2 separate regions of the Homo sapiens genome follow, and region 2 is linked to region 1. The links are contacts of gene promoters, found by promoter capture Hi-C in blood cells and fetal thymus (Javierre and others, 2016). All regions are on one chromosome and are shown on one strand. Each heading gives the region's core, a stretch centred on a gene start or on the middle of the fragment in contact. The rest is flanking DNA. Distances are from core to core; before and after follow the strand shown.

Region 1 (5,429 bases), core at 876-3,375:
CAAAGGCCTGGAGAAAAGAAGAAACATGAAGGAATGGCTAAGTCAGGAGATGAGCGGCAGGGGTGAAGCTGAAGCAGTCAGCAAGGGCGGAGAGGCCGGGCCTGGTCAGCTTCAGCAAGACCTCTGGACTCTGTCCTGACAGCAGTGGAAAGCTACTGAAGCAGGTGGTGGCGAGAGCAGACTGACATTTCAGAAAGAGCCTCCTGGCTGCTGCATGGAGCTTGGTTGGAAGTAGGTGCGCCTGGAGGGAGCAAGGAGCTGACACAGGAGTTCAGGCAGGGACAAGGATCAAGTGGAAATGGTGGAGATGGGGCGAGAGGGGCAGACTAGGAGATACTGTGGAGGCCGAGGCATCGGGACCTGGAGAGGGACTGGACACTGCACTGGGCCAGGTGCCACACGGCAGGGCAGAGGGGAGGGGCAGCTCTGGGCAGCTAGAGGAAGCTGGTGATGTTCACCAGGATCAGAGACAGAACAGCTTTACGAGAAAGGGTCACAGTTCCCCCAAGAAGACAGGAAAACTACTCTGGCCATTTGTCCAACCAAAGGCTCACACACCCACATCAAAACTGGCCAGCAATTTGCACAGCACTTTGCAAAGCACTCTCTGCCAGAAACACCTTTGGCCACTCCATCTGCTAAGGTGAGGAATACTGAGTCCCCATTTTAAAGACGAGCAAATCAAGGTTAAGTGGCTTTCCCAAGGCCACAGGACCAAGTGGTAACACAAGAAACTGGGTCTTCTGCCTCCCAGTCCAAGGGGGATTCTACAACCCACAGGTTTCCATTTTAAATGATATCTGATGTCTGGGCAAGGAAGATGATAGTCGAGGCTGGTACAATTCTCTCCCTAGAAGCAGAACAAACTACAAAAGGGCAACAGACCAAAGTGTTAACAGTGTTTATCCTTATCTCATTGGCAGTTTTTATTTTCCCCTTTTAAAATTGTTTTGGAAATTGCAACCATTGACATATATTATTTTTGTAATGAGAAAAGGAATTAAAAGTAAGTTTTGGGGCTGGGCATGGTGGCTGACACCTGTAATCCCAGCCACTTTGGGAGGCTGAGGTGGGCAGATTACTTGAGGCCAAGAGTTCAAGACCAGCCTGGCCAATATGGCAAAGCCCTGTCTCTATTAAAAATACAAAATTTAGCTGGGCGTGGTGGCGCACACCTGTAATCCCAGCTACTTGGGAGGCTGAGGCATGAGAATCATTTGAACCCAGGAGGCGGGGGTTGCAGTGAGTGAGACTGCATCACTGCACTCCAGAATGGGTGACGGAGTGAGACTCTGTCTCAAAAAACAAAACAAAACAAAACAAACAAACAAACAAAAAAACCACACTTTAAAGATGGTTCAGCATCAATCGTCAAACAGGAAAGAAAAAAAACAAAGCAGTACTCAAAATGCTTCAGGATTTTACATCTTCCTTTCTACTGCTGGCTGGAAACGGCCACAGCTAGCAGCCAACAGTAGCTCATGCCCCTAGCTCTTTGGAGGGTAATTTTGTGTTGTTCTTTGGTTGTTGGTTTTGTTTTTGTTTAATAGAGACAGAGTTTCACTCCCATCGCCCAGGTTGGAGTGCAATGGTGTGATCACAGCTCACTGCAACCTCTGCCTCCCTGGCTCATGCAATTTCTCCTGCCTCAACCTCCCAAGTAGCTGGAACTACAGGCTCACACTGCCAAGCCTGACTAATTTTTTGTATTTTTAGTAGAGACTAGGTTTCGCCATGTTGCCCAGGCTGATCTTGAACTCTGAGCTCAAGCGATCCACATGCCTCTGCCTCCCAAAGTGCTGGGATTATAGGAGTGAGCCACCGAGCCTAGCTAGTTTTTGTTTTTGAATTTGGAAGTTTATATTGGCCCCAAATATCCTACAACCCATGGCTTTTCTTCCCTGCAACCCCCCACTCCTGCCTTTCGGGTACTAGCTCTGGGGTGTTCAGAACAAGGGGGTTTAATACACCCAGGCAGACGTGGAGGGGAGACAGGAGTTGCAGCTTTGCTGGGCCCTGCTGCCAAGGTACTGCTGAATGGCCTGAGCTCTGGCAAATAAATTCCGTAAACAGAGTCTAGGCAGAGACCATTAAAAGTGTTTTCCTAGCATCTCTTTATGGGGCAGAACGCTGTCACGCTCAGGCTGCTGCAGGGTGGCTGGGCTCTTGTGTTGGCTTGAGGTCCCCCGCACAAACGAGCTTGTTTTTCCCATTTTCAGTGAGGGGCCTTAAAATAGACAGAAAAATCCTTCTCACACCTGCTGACTGCAGTGAACCGAGGCAGGCAAGCCAGGCAGAGGCCGCTCGCCAAACATCATCCACTTTGTCCATCCCCATCACATTTCAGGTTAATGGTGTCTGTGGATGCAAGTGCAAAGCTGGAAATGAAAAGAACATTCCAGAGGAAGCAAACAGCACTGTACAGGCTGCTGTGTTCTGGCCTTCAAAAAGACAGTGGACTTTCTTACTTTGAGCCATAGATCAAAATGTCACAATGAAGTACAAAGATGTTCATTTGAACATTAATTGTAATGGCAAAAACTAGGTGGAAAAAACCCAAATAGTAGAATATATACATGTGATAGTTATGAGAACTTTACAAATCACATTTATTCTGGGTTCACATTTATTCATTTGAAAATAAGCAAGGGCTTATTTTCAAGATCGCTTAAAGGAAGAATTCACCAACAGGAAGTAAGCCATAGGTTGGGAGAGACCGGGGGCCTGGGTGGATGCTGGGTTGAGGGTACTAGGTGAGCTCCCAATGGCCCAGTATGTCATTTCACCTGCAGGAGGGCAGCCCATGAGATGGGAAGTTTTGCACTTTGCTCACTGATGTATCCACCATGCCTGACACTCACTAAATATGCATCAAATGGAAAAATGTACATCACATTTATGAAGATTTTAATGACAAGGGAAAACATTTTTGATACTATGTTAAGAAAAGAGGTAAGAAACAAAACCACATGTATATGTATGGGGAAAAAAGCTAGAAGAAATTACATGAAGGCGTTAACTATGGCTCTGTCTGAGATGTAAAATTAGCGGTGACTTTCTTTCCTTATAATTTTCTGTGTTTTTTAGCAAAATAATTTACCAATTACTATGACTTAACCAATAACAAACAGGGAGATTGAAAAAGCTGCAACATGGCCTGGAAAACAATTGCTCCTCCCACAGACATTCCTGTGGTCCACTGGGGAAGTGAGCAGCCTGGGACTGCAGTGGTTAACTCCCCACCAGGCTCAGGAGAGAAGGAGTGTCCACCCTCAGACCCGGTGGGAATCAGGATCCCTGACCCCTCTACCTTTAACTCCACCAGACCACATGAGCACGTGAATATGTTATGGGTTCAACTGGATCCCCTAAAGAAGATACACTGAAGTCCTAATCCCCATTACCTCAGAACGTGACCTTATTTGGAAAGAGCGTTGCTACAGAGATAATCAAGTTAAAATGAGGTCATTAGGGTGGGCCCTAATCCAATATGAGTGGTGTCCTCATGAAAAAGGGGAAACTTGGCCAGGTGTGGTGGCTCACGCCTGTACTCCCAATACTATGGGAGGCCAAGGCAGGAGGATCTCCTGAGATCAGGAGTTCAAAACCAGCCTGGCAACCTGGTGAAACCCCGTCTCTACTAAAAATATAAAAAAAATTAGCCGGGCACAGTGGCGGGTGCCTGTAATCCCAGCTACTCGAGAGGCTGAGGCAGGAGAATTGCTTGAACCCGGGAGGTGGAGGTTGCAGTGAGCTGAGATCGTGCCATTGCACTCCAGCCTGGGCAACAAGAGCAAAACTCTGTCTCAAAAAAAAAGAGAAAAAAGTGGGGGGGAAACTTAGAGACAGACATTCACACAGGTAGAAGACCGAGTGAAGGTGAAGACAGGGATAGGGCTGATGAGTCTACAGCCACAGAACACCAAATAATGACAGCAAACCCACAGAAGCCACGGGAGAGGCCTGAAACAGCTTCTCCCTCCCAGCCTTCAGAACGAACCAAACCTGCTGACACCCTGATCTTGGACTTCCAGCCTCCAGAACTGTGAGACAATAAACTGCTGCTGCTTAAGCCACCTGGTCTCTGGTATTTCACTATGGCAACCTCAGGAAAAACTAACGCAGTAGGGGAGAGAGCCTGCCTTGGAGTCAAATCATGGGAAGACCCTGGCAAGACCTTGTTTCTCTGGGACTCAGTTCACTTATCTGGAAATGGGAGACCTGGCCTAGAACAGTGCGTTTCAAACTCAAATTTAGCCCTAGAATGAAATCTGACACGGAAGCCCAAATATAAAAGGTAAAATAAAGCCCAATTGGGTAAAAGCCTGGTCTAGATCACACACTCTCCCTGCAGAGCAGTCTTTGAAAACCACAACTCCAGGTGATCTGTAAAATCCCTGCCACCACTCCATTCTAAGACTGTCCAAACAAGAAACCCACGGACAGTATCGCTGGGCATCTTGCATGTGCCTGAGCTCGTGCCTTCTCTTTCAAGGAGCTTCCGGCCGTAGTGGGGAGGTGAGACTAACACCGCAAAGACAGCGGGGCCACCCTTCCCTCCTGAGAGCTCCAGCTGCGGACAGGTCACCTGATGTTCCAAACCCGACACATCTAAATTTATTTCGCCCTCCAAGGACAAGCAGATGCTGTGCCTTATCACAGCACGGCTAGGTGGCAGAACGACAGACATGACGCGCCCTTATCACCCCAAGGACAGCAATGACGTCTGCAGAGACTTGGTTTCCCTGACGATGAAATCAAGAGCTCACGTGCCAGCCAGGCAGGCCTGAAGGGGACTGGGTCACCAAGACGTGTGAGATTCTGATCATCCTCTCAGGGGCCCCAGACTCATCAGGGGGCACAAAGCTAACAAGGAAAGGGGGAAACAGTGTCACCATTCCCTCTGCCCCACTGTGGAATCAGGCAGGGTATTTGGTCTTTATTCATTTGATTTTTAATTAGACAAAGAACATGCCAATTCATTCTTTTTTTAAAAAAAAAACAATCTTACAGATAAAGCCAGTGTCCCCTCTGACCTTCACGCCTTCCCTGGGGGTAACCATTGTTAGGACTCGGGGCTGCAGGCTTCTAGATGACACACGTCCTTTCAAGGAAACACACTGGGCCAGAGCAGGGGCCTGGGCAGAGTGTGATGCTTCCAGCTTCCCTGGGCAAACTGTGGAGCCGTGGGGAGGAAGGAAGGCTGAGGACTGCAGGAATCAGGGCAGGCTTCCAAGAAGAGGAAGCTGGAGGCAGTGCTCTAGGAAGAGGAGGATTCCGATGACTCCAAGGCAACAGTCTCTGGGACACTGAACCCACTTCACCTCAGCACAAAAACAGCTGGCCTCATCCATCATGTGTAGCCGATTCAGCTTCTCTGGGAAACTCCAAAACCCTCTCAAAGGGTCCTCAACCTCTGCCCTCAAACC
Region 2 (5,429 bases), core at 1,625-4,124, 230 kb before region 1:
GGGGTAACATTTAGTGTGTCCTATGATCCCTGTAAGCAGTTGGTAGAATTTGATTTACATTTCTGATACACTTTTATTTATTTTTGCATGTAAAAGATCTTTGTCCAGATATATTCAAAAGTTTGATGGTTTTATGCCTATGTGGTATGTGTGAGAAATCTGAGGTTTGTGTGATACAAAGTAACTGGCCTTTTTTTTTTTTTTTTTTCTTTTGTTGATAGAGTGGTTTCCTCCTTTGTAATTCCCCTGCCCAGGGCCAGCCCATAGCTTTATTTTCAGATTTCTTCCTTTGAGACTGTTTCCAACATGAACTTGTTTTTAAAATTTCTTATGTAATAGATGATGTGTTGAATCATTCACAATTTTTAAAAAATTAGTTTGCAGATACTCCTCAGACATCAGTGTGTTAAGTTGTGGTTATCTTAAAAATATCAAAGACTAATACTGGAATATGTATTCTACACATATATCATTTATTTCTTTGATCTTTCTATTTGTTGTAGGTGTGTTGATTTCTGGTTTTCTATTCTGTGATTAGGCTCTGCTTGATTTTTGTGTAAATACATATGTGATTTTTTTTTTCTTGTGTTTGCTGAAGATTTTTTCTTTTTCTTCCAAGTCAATCACCTTCTGCTGCTTGGATGGGTGGATTTGGTGCTCAGCCTCCCCAAGGACAAGCTCCTCCCCCTGTAATACCTCCTCCTAACCAAGCCGGATATGGTATGGCAAGTTACCAAACACAGTGAGCCGGGACTCTAAAAAAAAATTGTAATTCATGATAGGCTTCGATTTCCTGTGACACTCTGAAGACATGAAAGTAGACATCGGAAAATGAAAATATTTATTTTAAAAATTGAAATGTTTGGAACCTTTAGCACAGATTTGCTTTGGTGAAGGACACGTGTCTTCTAGTTCTGCCTTTTTAAGTTTTTGTTCATGATGGATATGAACATGATTTTTCTTTATGTACAAAAACTAAAATAAAGTCAATAAAGACAATTCTGACTACAAATTTTGATATAATAGGAAAAATGGCTAATACATTTTGATTCTTAGATACTATTCCATTTTTATCTTGCTGTTCAGTATTTTAACTCACTGTGTTTTTAAAAGAGCAAAAAAGGGAGGATCGTGAAAACCTGGGAATCACATATAAGTTCATCCTGAATCCTGATACTCCCCTCCCCTTCCCTGAGGTGGACCACATTTGAAGTCAGCAGAGAAAAAGTGTGATATTCAGAAGAAATGCGTGATTTTGGAGTCGCTTTGGAGGAAATATTTTCTTTCTCTATGCCTAAAGAAACTGAAGCCAGACTGAAGTTTTGCACCCTAAAAAAGGAACAGCATTGTTTGAGTTACTTGAGCAAATGTTGGTGGTCCACGTTAAGACATATTTTTAAAACTTCCAAAAGTGTCGATTATTAAAATTGTAGTATTTTACATTTCATTTTGGGGGGAAATCCAAGTATGGTGTTTGTATTGAAGTCAGACAGTCATACTTGTGCTTTTACATGAAGTTTAAATGATACATATTGTAAATATTCAATAACTACAGTGTTTAAAAAGCATGCTTCAACATAGAAGTAGCAGCAATGTAATTATTTGAAGTAACACTTAACACACTCCGCTGCATTGAATGCAGTGGATTGATCAGAATGTTAAGACTGACATTTCCAAGGTTGGCTACTATGTAAAATTAAAATTACACAAATTGTGCAGAAAAAGCCTTAATTTTAATTTCATACAATCTTTGATGCATTAGTATGTTCTAAAATGTCATTGGGAATTAGTTTTTTGTTTTTGTTTTTTTTTTTTTTTTTTTTTGCTTTACATTACTTGGTATGTAAATACCTTGATTAAAACCTTGTAAACCAATTTCAAGGTTACTATAAGTTGTATAGTACAAGTGTTTTTTAAAAATCTTGGGGTGTTTTTAAAAATTAAGATATATTTTGCCCAAGAATTTTTTTAACAAGATTGCTAAAAACATCTTATTTAGACACTTCAATGTACCAATTTATAATTGGATATTCAGTTTAAATAGTACACAGAGTTGTGGCTTTTATTTTCAATTAATTTTTTTCCTTGTGGGCAGTGTGCATGGTATAATAAGCCTGAGCAGAGGCTTAAGTTGTATGTGTGCAGAGTTTGTAAAGGAATCAATTGGAAGATGCAGAAGACCGAGGTTTGCTTTCAAGGTATTTTTCAGGCTGTGTGGGTAAAATTTGCCTCAAATTTCTATCAAACAGGAATGTAAAATAGATAAAATCCTATGTATTTGAATTGTCAGAGCTAGGGAGTGCAAATGTTTTGGCAATGTATTCAAAATGCTGGCCTGGGCACCAAAGAGAAAATAGCCTTTTACAGTTACATAGTAAGATGCGATTAGTACCCACAAATTACTGTTTTCTAAACATTTGAAGTTTTACGATTAGCTTTAAAATAATGATTTTATAAATTGGTGGTCACAATAATTTTGGTATTACTTTCCTCCTTTTCCCACTTAGCAATATAGCCAAATGTATTCAACATAAAAATTCATAGGGTCTGAAATTCATAGCTGGGCCAAATTTTTTATGGCACCTTAGTTTTACCATAATGGTCATCTATTACACTCTTCTGTTATAAAATATACCCTTATTTCTTTTGTTTATAGTATCTTTGAGGAATGTTTTTGGAAAAGTTAATTTATATTTTATAGGGAGAACACTCAATAAATTATGTTAACTGTGCCCCCGAGTTAAAAATTTTATGAGTATATGTGAAACTTGAACAACTGAAGACTTTTTTTAATTGATAAAAATGCTTAGTATGCCTGTTTTGGTCTGCCAGTAAATTAAGTAGCTTATTGAGATAACTAACAGCTAAATATAGCTGTAGTGTTTCCTGACTGTATATTCTATGATTTAATAAAATTATCCAGACTAGTTATATTGCCACAGTAAACATGTGACTGAAGTGTCCTTCATCTTAATCTGAAAGAGGGCAAAATTTCATGATCAGTTAATGGAAGTTATTTCATATTAAGTGGTTTTTTTTTTTTTTTTTTTTTAGATGGAGTCTTGCTCTGTCGCCAGGCTGGAGTACATGTAGTGATGAGAACTTGGCTCACCGCAACCTCTGCTTCCCAGATTCAAGCGATTCTCCTGCCTCAGCCTCCTGAGTAGCTGGGATTACAGTCACGTGCCACCATGCCCAGCTAATTTTTTTGTGTTTTTAGTAGAGATGGGGGTTTCACCATGTTGGCCAGGATGGTCTCGATCTCCTCACCTCGTGATCCGCCCGCCTCAGTCTCCCAAAGTGCTGGGACTACAAGCGTGAGCCACGGTGTCTGGCTTTTTTTTTTTTTTTTTTTTGAGACGGAGTCTTGCCCTGTCGCCAGGCTGGAGTGCAGTGGTGCAATCTCGGCTCACCGCAACCTCCGCCTCCTGGGTTCAAGCTATTCTCCTGCCTCAGCCTCCCGAGTAGCTGGACTACAGATGCATGCCACCATGTCTAGTAAATTTTTGTATTTTTAGTAGAGACAGGGTTTCACCATGTTGGCCAGGATGGTCTCAATCTCCTGACCTCGTGATCCACCCACCTCGGCCTCCCAAGGTGCTGGGATTACAGGCGTGAGCCACTGCACCTGGCCATTAAGTGGTTTTTAAAATACAAAGCTACTTATCCAAATGAAATGTACCATTTAAAAACTACAACTGGGCCGGGCGCAGTGGCTCAGCCTGACCAACATGATGAAACCCTGTCTCCACTAAAAATACAAAATTAAGCGTGGTGGCCCGTGCCTGTAGTCTCAACTACTCAGGAGGCTGAGGCAGGAGAATCTCTTGAACCCAGGAGGCGGAGGTTGCCCTGAGCCAAGATTGTGCTATTGCACTCCACCCTGGGAAATAGAGCAAGACTCCGTCTCAAAAAAAAAAAAAGTGCAACTGTTGCCGGGCATGGTGGTTCACACCTGTAATCCCAGCACTTTGGGAAGCTGAGGCGGGTAGTGGATCACCTAAGGTCAGGAGTTTGAGACCAGCCCAGCCAACATGGTGAAACCCCATCTCTACTAAAAATAACAAAAAAATTAGCTGGGCGTGCTGGTGGGCGCTGGTAGTCCCAGTGACTTGGGAGGCTGAGGCAGGAGAATTGAACCTGGGAGGTGGAGGTTGCAGTGAGCTGAAAATGCGCCACTGCACTCCAGCCTGGGCGACAGAGCGAGACTCCATCTCAAAAAATAAATGAATTAATTAAAAGTATGGCTGTTGAGCTAACAGATGATTTTATAACATGACCCAATGCTATCTTGATCCAACTTAAGCCTAAGAATCGTTGCTCCCCACCCCGTTCATCAAAAACATCAGCAGAGACTTTTTGGGCATGCAAGGAAATGTTTTTTATTTCATAATTATTTTGAGATTTATTTTGGTGATGTGTTTCTGACTGACTGCCATATTCTTTGTTCTCATAATTTCTCTACTAGTATTTTCACTCCCAACCCCCGTGCCATTCCCACTTGATTTTTATGTCTGCTGGCAGTGAGAGGCTAAAATGGCCAACTTAAGCCAAAGCTGTAAACAACAGTTGAAGTAAGTCTTTCAATAAAGACTAGACTATATGATAAGTGGCTTTTTCTTATTGTCGTTTATTACATAATTATTCTACCAGGTTGCCATGAAATAAGCAACTGGGTTTTAAGTTTTCAGTAGTTATGTGGAGTATGTATGTAGTCAGGACCTATTTCCATGTTCTGTGTAAGTGTTAACAAGTCCATTAGCTTTGCTGAATTTAATCTCTGGATATGAAGGAGTAGAAATTTGCATCCTTCTAAAAATGCATGCTCTGTTTAATATTAATATATTAAAATTTATTAATTTGGAGTCCTCAGATACGGGAACTAATTTTACTGTCTAGGTTGCTCTTTGGTAGTATCTATGAGTAAAGATGATACTTGACAAAAATAATTTAATAAATGTTTTAGATACTTTACTAGTATGTCCAAATTAAATTTTCCCTATTAAAAGCATTTGAGCTTCTACTTAATACATTATAAACATTGACTTTGCAATTTTATTACGTATTGGAAAGATGCAAAACCTATTTCCTTTAGACTTTTACTAGTTTTTGTAAGCCTTCACTCTTAAGTGGTCCAAATGAGGGTTTTGCTTAAATGTGTATTCTACTATGTTTAGTAATTAAATATTCTCGTAATTGGCCAGGCACAGTGGCTCACACCTGTAATCCCAGCACTTTGGGAGGCTGGGGTGGGCAGATCACTTGAGGCCGGGAGTTCGATACCAGCCTGGCCAACATGGCAAAACCCCATCTCTACTAAAAATACACAAATTAGCCAGATGTGGTGGCGTGTGTCTGTGATCCCAGTTACTCAGGAGGCTAAGGCAGGAGAATCACTTGAAGCTGGGAGGTGGAGTTTGCAGTGTGCT

What was found. The method cuts DNA at HindIII sites, captures the fragments that hold promoters and counts their contacts. A CHiCAGO score of 5 or more calls a contact.
Region 2: a fragment that was not itself captured here is called in contact with the fragment with the promoter of GRK5-AS1 in region 1 in 1 of 17 cell types (naive CD8 T cells); the score reaches 5.8 in naive CD8 T cells.

Annotation. Positions count from the first base shown.
Region 1 is chr10:119,336,016-119,341,444 of GRCh38, reverse strand. GRK5-AS1 (GRK5 antisense RNA 1) reads left to right here and starts at 2,125. Exons shown (of 2, transcript XR_946357.4): 1 at 2,125-5,429. All of the region lies in intron 2 of GRK5 (G protein-coupled receptor kinase 5), which reads right to left. RefSeq lists enhancers at 1-151, 152-745. The HindIII fragment of the contact is 14,954 bases long and covers 1-5,429 here.
Region 2 is chr10:119,570,982-119,576,410 of GRCh38, reverse strand. TIAL1 (TIA1 cytotoxic granule associated RNA binding protein like 1) reads left to right here. Exons shown (of 12, transcript NM_003252.4): 12 at 620-2,946. The coding sequence ends at 746. Among named protein-coding and RNA genes, the nearest start is that of TIAL1, 23 kb to the left of the region's middle. The HindIII fragment of the contact is 6,967 bases long and covers 1-5,429 here.